Linked DNA regions of Homo sapiens: region 1 is linked to region 2. Evidence: promoter capture Hi-C in human tissues and cell types (Jung and others, 2019). All regions are on one chromosome and are shown on one strand. Each heading gives the region's core, a stretch centred on a gene start or on the middle of the fragment in contact. The rest is flanking DNA. Distances are from core to core; before and after follow the strand shown.

Region 1 (4,144 bases), core at 55-2,554, 38 kb before region 2:
CAAAAAGTACATACTGTATGATTACATGAACATGAAATCCCAATTTAGGTACATTTAATCTGTGGCGACAGAAACCAAAAAGTTGGTTTCCAGGTGAGAACAGGTAGTGGAAATTAAGAAAGAGGGGCATGAGGGAACTTGCTGGAGGCACAGAAATGTGCTATATCTTATTTGGGGTGGTATTTACATGATATCAAACTCACCAAACTTAACACTTAAGATCTGTGCATTTTTCATTTTATGTTGACAATATCAACAGAAAAACATCTTCAGACATGTCTAAATTTTTAAAAAGGAATTTAGCAAATCTTTCTAAGCCATAAAGGAAAAATAAGGAATTTCTTCCATTAATAGAAAAACAAGTACAACAGAAAACCAAAAAATTAATGGAAAAACTAACATGAATTAGTGAAAAGCTTGAATTACACACTAGTTTATGGAAATTGTTTTATTACTTTCAAGCACATTTGCCAACTCTAATAACTTCAAAACATTTTAAAAGGCTAAGCATTGTTGAGTAGAAAGCCAAAATGCATCCAAAATTAAAATACCATAAATATGTCACAATATTAGAAATACTGAGAGTGATAGTATCTGTGTGATTCTTTATTATACAAAGACATCTATTTCCAAAATTTCAGTAAAGTGCTATTTTATTACTCTGAAATGACTTCACACCTATAACTGTATGATCTAAGTAATTTCCTCAAATTTTGGGGAAAATTTTCAATTACATAAACTTAAATTCTTCTTTAAATTACCATATCATTCATTGAGAATAAGAAAAACTAACACAAAAATAGATTAAGAAACTTTCTTGATACAAAAATAAAGGATCATTCATGGTACTACAAAAGATATACAGGAAATGATATAATATTTCATCAGGATTGGTATGTGTTATCTGTTTTCTAAATGACTATTTCATGGATAAGTAACACTTCAGTTATGAAATCTTAATTCTCATCAGCTGAGATTTTATGGCAATGGGCTGTCCAGTATGAAATATTTTATTTTGATTTTAAAGTCTCTCTACATATTAAGTCTAAGTGCTTTCTAAATTACTAATTCCAGAGTGACTGTCACAATGTGTCACCTCAGTGCTACTCAAAATGTGGTCCTCAGAACTGCAGCATCAGCATCATCTGAGAGCTTGTTACAAATATCAATTCTTGGGACTCACCTCAAATCTTCAGAGGGAGGACTCCAGAATCTCTGTTTCACCAAGCTCTCCAAGCAACTGTTACGCGTGCTAAAATTTGAGAAGCACACTGTTTGCCTTGACTGCTTAAAACAAGGAATTCATGGGCAAGTCAGAAGATGAGTGCTTCACAAAAATTTTCCTGTGACAGATGCGTCCTTCCAAGTATGTACACCAAAAAGAGGGGGAAAAAATCCAATAACCTGTAACACCACAATGAAAATTGCAATGTGTTTCAAGTCGGAATTTTTTTTATATTTGATACCTTTCGTTCACTAATCATAAATGTCAACTTCTTCATTCCACTGTTTGTATTGATACCATCTTATGTCACAGATGAAGATGCTGATGAAATGTGAACAATATGCCAGTGGTATTTTAACCTGTTTATTTTTTTTTTTTTAAGAGAGGGGCATAATTTGTATCAGGCTTCACCTACTTAACACTAATGATGATACCCACTGATAAATTTAGCACAGAAACAAGTTTTTCAACTAAGAAATGAAGCATGTAAAATTATGAAAATAGCATCATACAATGCAGTGTGAAAATTCTAGCAACTTCTAAAAGATTTTAGTGAAAAATTTTATATATATATATATATATTTTTTTTTTTTTTTTTTTTTTTGAGATGGGATCTCTCTCTGTCATCTGGGCTGGAGTGTAATGGAGTGATCCTGGCTCACTGCAACCTCTGCCTCCCAGGCTCAAGCGATCCTCCCGCCTCAGCCTCCCAAGTAGCTGGAACCACAGGCATATACCACCGCACCTGGCTAATTTTTGTATTTTCTGTAGAGATGAGGTTTCCATATTGCCCAGGCTGGTCTCCAACTCCAAGACTCAAGTAATCCATCCACCTTGTGAATATTATATATTCATTAGCTCCAAATGATATTTTCTATTGGCTACACAACATATAAAGTTGAAATGAAATGATATTTCTTTACAGTAAACACGTAAGAGTTTTATGGTAAAGTGGCTACATATATTAATCCTTAACTACACACTTGTGATTGTGCTGTTTTGATACATAAAATATAAACTATACATAAGAAGTAACAATAAACCATGAAAAGGACTCTGGGCAAATCTGATTACACAGAAATCCCCAAATAGGCTAATATTACTTGATTTATCAATGTGGCACTTGAGGACATAGCACTTTGGTTTTCCCTATGTATTAATAGATGAGTTTTAGTACCATCAATAGGATGCTAGCTCTCTGTCTCTAGCTTCAAATTTTCTTGAATTCTAGAACCAAATTTTGAAATACTTTCTAGAAGCTACCTTGTCAGCACAAGTTTAATATGTTTGATATCCAATATATTATCCAGACTCTAAAATTTGTTTATCCTCCTGTTGAATTCCTTGCTCTGTTAAAAAATAACTCCACGCTCAATAAATGCTAAATGAATGGATGAGAGGGGAAAAATTTTTCTAATAATCCAGACTATCAATATTAGGGTAACCCCTCTTTCCCTCCTCCCATGAACTGCCAAATCTATAGATTATACCTACATAATTTCCTTTCTATTCCCAATACCAAACCTAGTACAGACCAACATTAGCTCCTAACTAGTCCCCAGCAATCATCTTCTAACAGCTTTCCAATCCATCTTACCTGCTTCAAAGTCACTCAACATAACTCTGACCATGTCATTCCCCAGCTCATAAATTTTAAAGGGCCAACTAATGCATAGTGAATTACAGTGAAACTCTTTATCCTTAAAAGTAAAGTCCTACAATATAAGAACCACAACCTACCATTCAAGCTTTATCTATTACAAGTATTAAACACTGAATATATAAACACCGTATTTTAACTATATCCATATCTGTGCAAAGATCAGCACAGTGCCTCTTCGCACAAGTATCCTTCATAAATATTTGTATATTTAAGCTGTGTGTTTAATATTTTCCCCAAAAGTACAAAATATGAAACTTACTGATTTTAGTCAGCAACATACAGGAGGAGAGATAAATTTTAGGTTTAGTCTGAGGTACTGCACTTAAGTGCCTTTTCTCTCATACTCTTTCCTAGTGAACAAGTATTTACTATGTCATTCTATTACATTGAAACTATGAAAAAATGATATGAAAATGCTTCAGCCCAATGATCTCCCTTCAAATACTTTTCAAATTGAGGAATGAGATATAGAGGAAACAAACACTAAGAGGAATGCATTCAAAAGAATACATTTGGAAAAAAAAAAGGATTTGTAGCTGCTATGATTTGAACGTGTGCCCAATCCAAAACTCATGTTAAATTTCATTGTCATTGTGACAGTACTAGGAGGTAGTACCTTTCAGCAGTGATTGGGCCATGACTGCTCTGCCCTCATGAATAGACTAATGTTATATTTCTGGAGTGGATTCCTTATAAAAGGCTAATTTTGGCCCCCCTTTTGCCTATGTAGCAGGCGCTTGAGTTTGCTAGTCATGGGATGGGACAGCAGTAAACAGAAAACTCTTGCCAGATGCTGGCCATTTAATATTGGACTTCCCAGCCTCCAGAACTGTGAGCCAATAAATTTTTTTTCATTATAAATGACCACTCTGGGTGCAGGGGGTCACATCTGTAAGTAATCCCAGCACTTTGGGATGCTGAGGCGGGAGGACTGCATGAAGCCAGGAGTTTGAGACCAGCCTGGGCAACACAGAACTCATCTCTACAACAAATTTTCATGGTAGCATGCAGTCCCAGTTACTCTGGAGGCTGAAGTAGGAGGATTCCTTGAGCCCAGAAGATTGAGGCTATGGTGAGCGATGATTGTACCACTATACTCCAGCCTGGGTGATGCAAAAAAATTGTCTCAAATAAATAAAAAGATTAGCTAGTCTGTGGTATTCTGATATAGCAGCATGAAATGGACTAAGACAGTAGCTATGAGACTTAAATATGGTCAAGGCCGAATCCTTAAAAAAAAAAAAAAAAAAATTCCT
Region 2 (4,475 bases), core at 1-2,500:
CAATTAAATCAAATTAATACCTGGATTCCTGCCACTGGTATCCTATTTTCTGGAAACCTAAATTTGTGGTTTCATATAAAAATTGATTTTTTTCCCCTCATGATTTAAAATCTGAAAGAAAAGACTTACCATTAATATGAGTTTTTGATATTTTTGTTTTAGGTCTGATATATTTGCAGATGGGTCTGCTCCCAGGATGCTGTACCAATCCTTTTTTGGCATCTGCTCAACCGCCATCATCCATGGAACCAGAAGTGGGCCTTCTCAGATTAGCTGAATAGAAATATTAATGACAATTCATCACAGTTTGCCATGTATCTAAGAAAAAATTAAGTACTGCCCTTGTAAATTCTTTAGTATTTAGTCGAGTAAATCATGATTATAATGCAAACCTGAGGAAGCACAGATTTTCATTTAAAATGCCCCAAGAATTCCAGGTATAAGTGTACCGACAAGTATGGAAAACGTGTTAGGTATTTCACGATATATATTTATACTTTAATTAATGAACAGCATTAAAAAAAAGAATTTTATAATGAACCAGGTGGTGTATGAACCTCTAAGAAGGTATTTCTGCTAGTCTTATGATAAAACTGGCACACAAGTAAGCACCCACTAAACACGCTGGAGGAGCTTAATGAATATTTACAAAATGAACGAATAAAAAAAAAGCAAAACAGAACATCAAAGAATTAAAATAAATTTGGGGGCATTCCTTCTGAAAGTTTCTCGTTTGCTTTTCCTCCAGATTGTCTGGAGAGCATGATATGGGAAATAACGTCAGCACCAGCTGGTAGAGAACAAGAGTCCCCTGTTATTGGAGAGGCGCTGAGACCTCGCAAAGACAGAGTGAAACTCTCTACGCGAGGATGCCCCAGTCTTCCACGCTCCAGAAGAGAGACCCTACCAGGAGCCCCAGAAATCAGGCAACCTCTTCCCACAGCTATATACACTTAACGAAACAGCCGGGGCCTCCTCAAGCTCGGGACTTGGGAATCTTCTCCATTCACAGTCGGCTTTACCCACCCAGCCATTGGCGGGCACCCTCTCCGCGCTTTATACGACATCAGACCTACCTAACTTCACATAGGCGCTGCTACCCACTCCTCGCCTGCTGTCGGCCAGAACTCCGGACCGGCTTCTTCTTCCGCCGGAAGTCACTGTTCCGACGTGTTCGCGTTTCTGGCCGAGCTGATGTGGCCGTGGCACAGCTCAGAAGCGACGCTCCGCCCACCCCGACGCGGTCTCTATGGTAACCGGTCACCGCTTCTATGGAGTGGCGTTTACTACCAGTAAGTTCCCAAACTGTGAAGAAAGGCGCCTTTGGCTTCGCTCTAAGTCTCTCTTTTCCGGGCCCCGCGACTGTCGCTTCTCTCCTCCTCCTCAGCGAGCACCCCCTCGCCATCCCAGGCTTTCCCCGCCTTTTTCAAAGCTTCCTCCGTTTACCGTACCCTGAGCTACTCTCAATCTTTTCGGTTGGTGCTTGAACTCTGGGGTGAGAGAGGGGTGCGGGGGCAAGGATGTGAGAAGGATGAGGAGACCTGATGCCACTCTCGTCCCTACAGTTCCTTTACAATGTTCTAATTCGAAAATTAAAAGAACTAAAACCTATGCCAGGTAGGGCTAGATGTGCGGGGGATGGGGTCGGTTTAATTTTTTCTGCAGAAGATATTCGACGTAATTATTAATATTTCTTTTAGACCTTAGCAACCAACTTACAACATAAAAACGTTCCAAAATTCTTTCACATTTGCTATTTCACTTCGCTTTCATTTCAACCCAGTGAGACAAGTAAGGCAGGTGCCATTATTCCCACTTTATAGATGAGGAAAGAAATCAAGGATCAAGGCCAAACAGCTAGTTGGGTAGGGGCAGAACAAGGACTCAGCAAGTCTACACATTCCCAGGGCAGCTATGCTATCTTTCAAGCTTACAGAAAAAAGCAGAATGAACTGTTCTTCTTCGAAGCAGTTAGGGGGCACTGCATATGGGCACTGTTGGGGTTTGTTATTGTTGCTGGTGGTGGTGGTGGTGGTGGTGGTGGTGTTTTTCTCACCTTTCTTTCTTCTCCCTTTCTTGATTCCTGTGTTTCCTTTTATTACTTCTTTGTGCTGCTTACTTTACATTAACACCTCTTCCTAGCATTGTACCTGGAGATGAAAACTACATCTTATTTTTGGCCAGCATGACATAAATTTCACTTGGAGATGTTAAAATGGTTTTGTTGTTACTGCTTTGATTTTGCTTTCCTTCTTTTTTAAACTTCTACCAATCTGAGTTTGAGAAGCAGTCAAGATAAACTTAAGCAGAATAAATAAAATAATCTAATATGATCAGTTATTTAATGATGTTATGAACTATAAAGAATAACTGAATGAAACAAGCAAGTTTAAAAATCTAAAGATGAAAGCATAGATTAGGTTCTCCACAGGGTTTTGTCATGTTTAAAGGCAGATACAAAGAGCATCTGGTTTTAGTCCTGGCTGCATCATACTTTCTTGTGTGGCCTCATGAAAATACCTAAAGCAATGGAATTAAGTAGTGTGGTGAATGCTTTTCTAAACAGTACTGTCAGAATGATGCCACCTTGAACATCTCTAGCCCTCAAACTCCCTTCTGTCCACAGCTTGGTTCTTCCTTGTGTAGGTAGATATGCTCCGGTACTCCAGGTTTTTTGTTTTTTACAGCAAAAGCATTTTATTTTGATTTACTATTTATTAGGTTATTGTGTTACCTTATTTATTTATTGGGGTTTGGAAAGTAAGAAATAGTTTTTTTCCCCAGCAATACCAAATATTTTGTCATTTCATCTCTACATACTTTAGTTTGCATCCCTAAAATGTACCAACTTTTTCTTTTATCTCCATAATGTCATTATTGGACTGTCACATAATATCTAGACCTTACTTACATTTCCACGGTTAATTGAAAATGTCTTTTTCTGGTTGGTTTGCTTGACTCAGAATCAGACAAAATGTACACTTTCCATTTAGCTGTTCTGTCTCTTAAATATCTTTTAAATTATAGCAGTCCCATTTCTTCACTAGAACCTTGTTTTTTTCTTTACTTGCCATTGGCTTACTGAATGAGAACAGTTGTCTTACACTCTGCTTATACCAAAATAAACTTCTTAAAACAATTTTTACATAAATTTCTGATCATTAAGCTTCCTTCATTTTTCATTTTATAGAGCAGTACTTTCCAATAGAAATATAATGTAAGCCGTAAGTGCAAGCTACAAAATTAATTAATCTAAAAATTATTAAGGCGATACTTTACATTCTTTTCTCCTACTAAGTCTTCAAAAGCTGGTATGTATTGTGCCCGAACACACCTCAATTTGAACTAGCACATTTCAAATGCTCAGTAGCCACATGTGACTAGTGGCTACTGTATCCAGCAGGGCAGGTCTAGAGAATAAAGTCCTAACTCCTTAACCTAGCATTCAAGTTACCTCTTCAATATGATCCTTACTTTTCCAACCTCCCCTATTATCTCCATACATTAAACATTTAAACAATTGGATCTTTTCATGGTACTGAAATCAACCCAACAGTCCCATAGACAGGGTTTTGTTTGTTTGTTTAGTTTTGTTTATTGGGGTTTTTTAAATTAATAAACATAGAAATGGACACTTCTTTTCTGAAAGCTTGAAACTTGCATTTGTTTTATCTTTTTGTTTGCTTGTTTGAGACAGAGTCTTGCCCTGGTGTCCAGTCTGGAGTGCAGTGGCATGATCTCAGCTCACTGCAGCCTCTACCTCCCAGGCTCAAGTCATCTGCCCACCTCAGATTCCCAAGTAGTTGGGACCACAGGTGCATGCCACTATGCCTGGCTAATGTTTGTATTTTTTTTTGTAGAGATGGAGTTTCACCATGTTGGCCAGGCTGGTCTGGAACTCTTGAGCTCAAGCAATCTGCCTGCCTCAGCCTCCCAAAGTGCTGAGATTACAGGCATGCGCCACTGCGCCCAGCCACATTTTGTTGATCTTTATCTCAGTTCCTTCCTCAAGAAAGGATGCCCAGACCTCTCAACAAGTATCAAAGAGCTGAAACTCACCAGATTACTGCATCTAGACAGTGATATGCCAGACCCCTCATTCTTCGTTATTGTTTCCTTACCCTTCCTTAGTTCCTGTTTTCTCATACGTAGTTAACATTTCTTCCCTGTTATATAAACCCCTAATTTTAGTCAGTGAGGAAGGTGAATTTGACACTGATGTCCCATCTCCTTGGCTGCAGCATCTGATTAAAGCCTTCTTCTTTGACAATAATCATTGTCTCAGTGATTGACTTTTTGGGTGGTAAGCAGCAAGACATAGATGGAACTCCTGGTGTTTTGGTAACAGCATTTCATCAATAATTGTGTTCAAATGCTTCTCCTTACTTATAACACCCTAATTCTTTTCTTCCTCCTATCAGAGTAATCCCTGCTTTAAGGCCTATCTCTTCCATCAAGCCTTTTATGATGGCCTG

What was found. The method cuts DNA at HindIII sites, captures the fragments that hold promoters and counts their contacts. A contact is called where the count stands out against the background at its distance.
Region 1: a fragment that was not itself captured here is called in contact with the fragment with the promoter of DCDC1 in region 2 in 1 of the 25 tissues and cell types used here (adrenal gland).

Annotation. Positions count from the first base shown.
Region 1 is chr11:31,405,370-31,409,513 of GRCh38, reverse strand. The region is part of intron 2 of DNAJC24 (DnaJ heat shock protein family (Hsp40) member C24); the gene reads right to left. Among named protein-coding and RNA genes, the nearest start is that of DNAJC24, 38 kb to the right of the region's middle. The HindIII fragment of the contact is 5,144 bases long and covers 1-3,876 here.
Region 2 is chr11:31,366,514-31,370,988 of GRCh38, reverse strand. DCDC1 (doublecortin domain containing 1) reads left to right here and starts at 1,250. Exons shown (of 39, transcript NM_001387274.1): 1 at 1,250-1,292. DNAJC24 (DnaJ heat shock protein family (Hsp40) member C24) reads right to left here and starts at 1,129. Exons shown (of 5, transcript NM_181706.5): 1 at 1,077-1,129; 2 at 130-273. The coding sequence starts at 240. RefSeq lists an enhancer at 837-1,316. The HindIII fragment of the contact is 7,317 bases long and covers 1-1,681 here.